Regions from separate parts of the Homo sapiens genome. Here region 2 is linked to region 1. The links are contacts of gene promoters, found by promoter capture Hi-C in blood cells and fetal thymus (Javierre and others, 2016). All regions are on one chromosome and are shown on one strand. Each heading gives the region's core, a stretch centred on a gene start or on the middle of the fragment in contact. The rest is flanking DNA. Distances are from core to core; before and after follow the strand shown.

Region 1 (3,967 bases), core at 394-2,893:
GCTCAGGGCCAGGCGCGGTGGCTCAAGCCTCTAATCCCAGCACTTTGAGAGGCCAAGGTGGGTGGATAGCTTGAGCTCAGGAGTTCGAGACCAGCCTGGCAACATGTTGAAATCCTGTCTCTACAAAAAACACAAAATTAGCTGGGCATGGTGGCAGATGCCTGTAGTTCCAGTTAGTCTGGAGGCTGAGGTGGGAGGATTGCTTGAGTCCAGGAGGCAGGGGTTGTAGTGGGCCACAATCATGCCACTGCACTCCAGCCTAGGTGACAGAGCGAGACCCTGTCTCAAAAAAAAAAAAAAAAAAAAAAAAAGCAAAGAAAAGAAAAAAGAAAGAGCCCAGCACTGTCCTCTGTGGTTAGGGCGGTAAGGGCAACCTTGCCTCTTGGGCTGTATCACCGGACACACCTCACAATGCTAGAGCTCTCTGCAATGGAGCTGCAAAGGCTATGAGGAACCTCCGGCAAGCCCCCAAAGAACCACAGTAGAGCCCTTGAAGGTTCTGGAGCATAGCCAGGCCAACTCTTAACAACAACAAAAAAGAATTGGGAGATCTTTTATTCCAGTAATCTTATTTTAAAGGTAAAAAGGAGGCCTAAAGTCATAGGCATAATTGGCAGAATTGACTTTTGTTCTGGTGTTTCTCTCTGTAGTCATTCTTCACTTTCTGATGCAATTTTAGCACATCTTAAATATTAAAATGTTTTGGAACAAACTTAGAGAAATTATGAAGCTAATTTAGGAAAAGAGCACAAGAATCTTTGATTTACAGGCAATTTGGGGATATAATTTAGCTATATTGAAGCTATGCAGCCAACATGTAGATGGTCATTATTATTACACCATAAATTTTGTGAGGTCAGGAACCTTGTAATTTTAAAAATATTCACTCTGTGCTTTGTTGAATAAACGGATAAAACGTATAGACATACATGAACTACTGATGAGTGGCTGTGTGTGATGTGTAGCTATGTTTATTATTTTTAAGATTCTTATTGTATTTGTTGAAGGCCAAGTTGAGGAGGGAATTGCTTAAGGGAAATGAAAAGGGGTTTAACCACAGTCCCCACCATTCAGGGGCATGCAATCTAGTAGGTTAGGGGACAGGACAGACACACCATGATAGGTGATCGAGACCTTTTAAGAGCAGTGTGATGAAATTGCTATGGGAACTGGGAGGAAACATTTTCTAGGACTGGGGAAACACTGAGTGTGCTAGAAAAACTTTGTGCTCCTGATCAGGGAACCTGGGTTCTATAACTGCTTCTACTACTGATTTGTCCTGTGACTTCGCGCACCAAATTTAGGCTTGTAAATTAAACTCCCAGATTTCTGTTTTCCATTTTGCAGCTCTAGGGGTTGAATGAACCATTAGGTTCCCTCGGACAAATGACCTCCGCTAATTTCCTATTTCGTTGTTTTCTCACCCCTACACCCCACCGTTCCGTGGGTCCCTCCTCTCCAGGAGGCCAGACGAGGAAATAAGCGAGGCCTCTTTAAAGGAGCTCTCAAAGAAAGGTACCCGGGGTATCCCGGGCTGTGGAGCAAGCGCGGGGCGCCGGGGACCCGGGTTTCCCACGCAGCCGGGGACGCCGTTGCGTCACGGCGCCTGCAGCCAATCAGGACGTAGCCTTCCGGGACGCATTACTAGGGCGACGGCCGGACGCCTCCGCGTTACGGGATGAATTAACGGCGGGTTCCGCACGGAGGTTGTGACCCCTACGGAGCCCCAGCTTGCCCACGCACCCCACTCGGCGTCGCGCGGCGTGCCCTGCTTGTCACAGGTGGGAGGCTGGAACTATCAGGTGGGGTTACGGCGCGAGGAAAATGGCGGCGGCCGGGGGATCTCAGAGGTGCAGGAAGGGGAGCTGCAGCCCGGGCTTTTCCTCCTGAGCCATGGACCTTCCCCGGGCCGCGACCTCGGGTAACGGCCACTGGCCTGGCATTTGGGGTCCCGGTGCAGGTGGCGGTAGCGTCGCTGGCTCAGGTGGAAGGAGGCGCGGGGAAGCGACTCCTGGAGGCTGGCTGAGGCGTCAGGTGCTGAGGGGCCGCGCGAGCGGCGAGGGCGAGGTAGCCGCGGGGCGAAGAGGGTCCCGTCGGTGTTTACGCTAGGAGCGTCAAAACCTTCCTCCTGCGACCTCAGCGGGTCTGGGAGCTGCACTGTCCCGGAACGCAACCTGAGGTCTGACCCTGTTAAATCCCATGCACTAAAACGTCTCAAGTGGTCACCACGTGCGGGGCTTCGACGAGAGCCGTGGAGAGCAGGGGCTGGGGTTGTCTTCCCTGCGAGTCCTGCAGGCGCCAAAGGCCTGCCTGTAGGTGCCAGAGTGGCAGTGCCGCGAAAAGAAAGGTAGGCCCTAGCCAGGGCGGATGCCAAACCTGATCTTTAAGGTGTATCGTAGCTTCTAATTGCCCATTTGAAGAAAAGAAGTTGAAAGATAAGGCACTTAGATGTGGTTGTGGAGATGTTTTGCTTTCTTGTACTTCCCTGGTTCAGGTGGCTTCCCTGGAAATACTGCATCTGCCTTTAAAGTTCATTAACTGTGTTTCTTGTGTACATGGCAGTAGATGAGATTAGGGATTGAAGTCACTTTAAGTCCAAGAAAAGTATTGAAGATATGTGTTGAAGGCATTACCAAGATGAAATATTTATTCATATCATTAACTTATTTGTTCAAAGAAACGTCATCTCATGAAGTATAACTACGTGGGTTAGTTTTCAAAAAACTGACTTGATGAAAGCCCTTTTTGTAAAACATATTTTTTGAGAGTAAGTAAAAATACATCATCACTTTTTCGTTTAGGTTTCTGTTGCACATTGTACTTTGATATGCTTGATATGACAGATAAGCATAATGTTAACTGACTTTTGTTTTTGGTAGTAGGCTTGATTTTATGGAGTAGTACCTTGTTCTGTAACTGAGAAAAACGTAATAGCGCTTGTGTTTCAGTCATCAATAGCTGCAATCTCTGGAGTGCCAACTATGTGTCAGTTTCTGTGAAAGCTAGGCTTCTCCTACTTTTTAATTTGAACACATGGTCGTCTGCATCTGCCCCCACCAGGTCTTTAGGCTGGCTGTTGCTGACAACCAGGAGGAAGCAATGGGGAAAACCCAAAAGATTCTTCCAAACTGGATCCATGGAGATTTGGTCAGTTTGTCCTGGGGTTGAGGTTATGGGTGGATTCTAGTCCAAACTCTGCCACTTAAAAATATCTTAGGGTAATCATACAACTTCACTATTGGTGTCTTATCTCTAAAGTGAGTATTTCTTATTCAAACAATCTCATTGCACTGTTGGGAGGAAAAAGAAAAGACAGTATGTGTGAAAGGGCTTTAAAAAGTTAAAAAAACAGTGAAAATATTTGAAATTTATTCCTCTGCATTCATGTACTCTGCCAGGCACTGAATCCGGGGACTTATATGTGCCAACTCAGTCATCTAGCATCACTGTGAGGCGGATACATTTATTATCTTTATTTTGCAGATGAGGAAACTGAAGCACATTGAAGTTTAAGTAATTTGTCCATATCACACAATTAGCATTGTGTTTCCAGCCTGTGTTCTTACTGTCTTACTACCACCATGCCTACTATCTTCCTATGACATACAGATGTGTTATGTATTAAGGGGAAACATTAATTCATGTACAAATTTTTCATTTTTAATATATATATTTTTCTTTTTCAAAGGCTCTAGCAATGTCCTAGAATGAACACATATTTCAAGCCAGTAGTTTTGTTTGTGATCTTGTGTAAATAATAATCATGGTTTATTCCATTGGCGTCCAATAGTGATTTGTGTGGTAACAATTACATTTACTTTGGTTAAGTGGTATATTCTTCTTACTTGTGTTGCCCATTAATTAAAAAGTTATTTTGAAACAGAGTTATGACTAATTTCTTTTTTTTTTTTTTTTGAGAGGGAGGTTCGCTCTTGTTGCCAGGGCTGGAGTGCAATGGCACGATCTC
Region 2 (3,967 bases), core at 385-2,884, 210 kb before region 1:
ATCCTGTATGTGCCCAGAGTTTGTGCAAGGATAAGGGAATATTCGTATCCTGCTTAGAGAGTACAAGGCACTTTCACATGTCAGCCATTGGTGGGCCAGCTTGGCCCCTCTGGAAATTTCCTTTGCAGTCAGAGTCGGGTATCCTTAAGGCTTTTAATCCAGGGGATGTTTTTCAAGCTGTGAGCATGCAGCTGCTGTGTCTGGGGCTAGAGAAAGGGGATGGATGGCAGATGTGAAACTTGCAGAAAAGCTGACCCCTTGGGGCTTTAAGTGGAACATTTTGCCAAAAGGAGCACCAGAGAGACAAATTTAGGAAAGCTGTATGATTGGACTTTGTTTCCCTCCAGTTGACCTGTTATTGTTATTGTGTATTAATAATATATAGAGTTCCCCTTTGGAAAGTTCATGTGAGGATTATTTTTATTCTTAGTTGGAGAAGTGAAGGGAGATGTGGTTGAATTGGTTTTAATATAGACAGATGGACTCAGCTACCTACTGTTTTGGTTTCTCTGGTTCTGTCATTTAAAGAAACATTCAGGGTCCCTCTGTGCCAGTGGGGACTAGAGTACAGGAGAGGAGGGAAGAGGTTTGCCAGAGAGGTCTGCAGACAATGGGCTTTGTCTGTTGCGGCTGAGCCCTGGGGCTGTGGGCTTGCAAGGCGCTTCCTCAGGGTGTGAGCTTGTTTTGCTGCAAGTTCTGTTTTGAACACCTCTCTTCCTGTCTCCAGACAGTCCCCTGATCCCACAGCAGTGAATGCATGAAGAGTTAGGAATGTGAAAGCGCGTGTGTTTGTTGACTTTTGGTCTGGGTTTCTTGGCAGCCCCGACTATCTGAGATCGGCCAAGATGACTGAGGTGATGATGAACACCCAGCCCATGGAGGAGATCGGCCTCAGCCCCCGCAAGGATGGCCTTTCCTACCAGGTGAGTAAGTCCTGGCTCCCCTCTGACTCTCTAGAGCCTAGTGGTTTTTGCTGGGGGTGAGGACAGACTTGGTTTTGCATCCCAGTGCCACATATAAGAGCTGTGGGACTGTGGCAGAGTCCCCTAATGCCAGTAAGCCTCAGTTTCTTCATCTGTAAAATGGGGCAACAATCGTCCTTATCTCCTAAGATTGTGGTAAAGATTCACCATGACAAGTGGATGTGTAGGAAGCATTCCTAGTGTCTGGGACAGATAAGGGCTCAGCAAGCATTAGCCATTGTGATGAATTGACCCTACTGGCTCTGTGAACTTTGCCATTCACCGCAGCAAAGGAGGAAATGATTTGTTTAGTCGATTGAGACCAGAACTTTCCTTCCCAGCCATGCCTGGGGTAGTAGAAGCATTGCTGTCGGGGGCTTCTGCAGAAGGGTGGTCTGGTGGGGATAGCCATGTCCAATGCTGCTTTCTTCCTTGGGTTGATTATTGACCTGTTGATTCAGAGTTAACATTCAAACCACTTAGAGAGGAAGATATTTTCCCCAAAGGGAGGCTAGCTCAGGGATGCTATTGCTGGGATCTTGCTTGGAGATCATCCTGTCTGGTGGATCCAAAATGCACAAGGATCACAAAAAGGGACCAGAGTGAGCCCTCTGGACTCTTACCCCAGCCCTCTCTCTGGCTTGCCCTGCTGCCTCTCTACTGCCCCTGGGTTGGGGGTGGGAGCAATGGAGCACCTGCAGTTCCCTCTGGGCTGTGAGCTGGTTTGGGGTTTTGGAGGAGAGTTCCTATGTTGTTAAACTGGGGGGAGGGAGGAGTCTCTTCTTAAGGAAGACCTTGGAGCTAGGGAAGTTGTGTAGGATGGCCAGCCCAGGGAAGTCGAAAGGGAGTGTGATGGGTCCATGGGTCCGTGCTACAGACATGAAGGTATGCCCACTGCACGCCAAGCACTCTACAGACGCTGCCTTGCTCACATCTTACCACAGCTCCCAGGCGGGGATCCTCACCCTGTTCACAGATGAGGAAATGGCTCAGCCTGAGTCAGTGACTTGGGTCTGTCTAACCCCAGAGCCTTGTTCTTCTGATGTATTGTGTGTCCACACCATGGCTTGGTTCCGCTAGGGTCTAGGTTGACTCTGGCTGGTCATTCCTTAGAACTGTTCCAGGGACATTTATTTTGTAAATTAAAAAAAAAAAAAAATCAAATAGAAAGCCAGGGAGCCAGGGTGGGTGCCATGGAGGGAAAGTAATCAGATAGAACCAAGCTAAAAGTTCAGGCAGGGTCACTTAACTTCAGACATGCTTGGGAGGCTAAGGAGGCCCCTTTGTGTTGTCTATATTGGCAGGCCTGTCTTGAAATAAGTAGCCATTAGCTTGAAGGGGGTGTGTGGAGCAAGGGGGAACTCTCTTTGCTACGTTTGACTTTTCTACCCTCCTCCCCCAGAGTGGGTCTGAGGAAGACAATTGAGGGCCCCTCAACCTGGTGGGAGGGGTAGAAGTTTCCTGGCCCACCAGCCAGGGGGTTTTGGGTAGCAGTTTCCAAGCCCCTGAGTCAGAATGAATCTCTTTGTGGTTACAGGTGAGGTTCTCTTTCGGTTCTGGGTTTTAGATTTCCATCACAGAACCTTTCCAAATGCAGTCATCTGTTCATCTTGTGTGTGCTTTTCATATTTTCCTTTTAAATACATCCCAGGATAAAGGGCCAGGCCCTATAGGGCCGTTTTCTCAATGCTTCGAGTCCTTCAGGCCATTCTGCTGGACCTGAGACTCAGGGCAGGTGGTGAGGGAGGAAGGAGCTGGGGGAGGAAGGCCAACCTGGGGCTGCAAGGGCAGCAGGAAAATAAAATCACCTCTGGGTGCCTGACACATCTCAGCACTGCCTGAGCAAAGGATCCACACATCTTCCCTTGTGGTGCTGGACTGAGGGCCCAGTTCTCAGAGCCCCCTCCCAGGAAATCTGTTTCTGCTACCTTGGTGGGGACCACTCCCCAGTTCCAAAATATCTTACTTGGAACTTCAGAGCACTCTGGTCACAATTTTTCACAGCTTTTCTGATTTCAGAAAGGTCTCTTGGTTGCCTGGTGAAGAGGAAAGGGAGATTGTAGTATTTAACCAAGCAACATTTAGGGGCACTTTCCCTGTGCAACCTGCTGTGCTGGCCTCTGTGCCCAGGGTCCAGGGCCCTTGTAAGAACCCAGCATCTACATAAACATCTGGAACACAGGTGGTGCAGTCAGTCCAGGTGGGGGACATACAGAAGCTACAGTGAGTCCAGGCATCGACAGCAACAATGAAATCCAGCCGACAGAATCAGAGGGAGGGCAGACTGGGGCTGGGCTCTGAAAGAAAATTAGGACTTTGAGAGGGCAGTTCCATCTCTAAGGTAATGTTCTTGCACCTTCAGATACCCCTGGGCTTGCCCCTGTTTATGCCAGGGGCAGGGCTGTGCAGTGAGCTGGTCTGACCATTGCGGTGTGACAGATATTCTCCGGGCCCACTCAAAGCTAGTGCCGTCCAATTAGACACATTCCCACCAGAGCTCTGGGGATTGGCTGGGACTGGCACTTGGCTGGAGCCCCTTCCCTTTGCATGCTCAGGCTCGGCTCAGGCCTGGGGGCAGGGGATCTCGGAGCTCTGTTCTTGGCATTCCTCCTAAGGATAATAATAGTACGTGGCTTTTACTGAGACCTGCTTTTCTAAGGAACTGAGAGTGGGAAGGAGACATCAATCCAGACTTGGCAGATGAAATAGGATCTCAGGCTTGTGATTTGACCTTGAAAGAAAGTCATCAAGTAAATGGCACATTGGACTTTGTCAGTCACTTCACTGCCTTGCAGATCTATCGAGAGTGAAGCTTTCCTGATTTCTCTGTACCAGCTGTGACGTTTCTTTTAATGCCTGTGGCATTTTGTACTTGCCAATGATGCCGCTTCGAGGATACGGGTCCTGTTTTACCTTCTCTTTGCCCAGGTCCTTGAAGGCAAGGGAGGACTTATCTTCATCTTTGTACCCTGCCCCCACCCAAGGTGCCTAAGTGCTAAAAGTGG

Evidence for each region. The method cuts DNA at HindIII sites, captures the fragments that hold promoters and counts their contacts. A CHiCAGO score of 5 or more calls a contact.
Region 2: a fragment that was not itself captured here is called in contact with the fragment with the promoter of LCLAT1 in region 1 in 1 of 17 cell types (non-activated CD4 T cells); the score reaches 6.5 in non-activated CD4 T cells.

What each region holds. Positions count from the first base shown.
Region 1 is chr2:30,445,603-30,449,569 of GRCh38, forward strand. LCLAT1 (lysocardiolipin acyltransferase 1) reads left to right here and starts at 1,644. Exons shown (of 6, transcript NM_001002257.3): 1 at 1,644-1,781. RefSeq lists enhancers at 1,334-2,071, 1,375-1,444, 1,485-1,544, 1,755-1,874, 2,072-2,808. The HindIII fragment of the contact is 6,952 bases long and covers 1-3,967 here.
Region 2 is chr2:30,233,585-30,237,551 of GRCh38, forward strand. LBH (LBH regulator of Wnt signaling pathway) reads left to right here. Exons shown (of 3, transcript NM_030915.4): 2 at 821-923. Among named protein-coding and RNA genes, the nearest start is that of LBH, 4.0 kb to the left of the region's middle. RefSeq lists a silencer at 2,645-2,852. The HindIII fragment of the contact is 4,276 bases long and covers 1-3,772 here.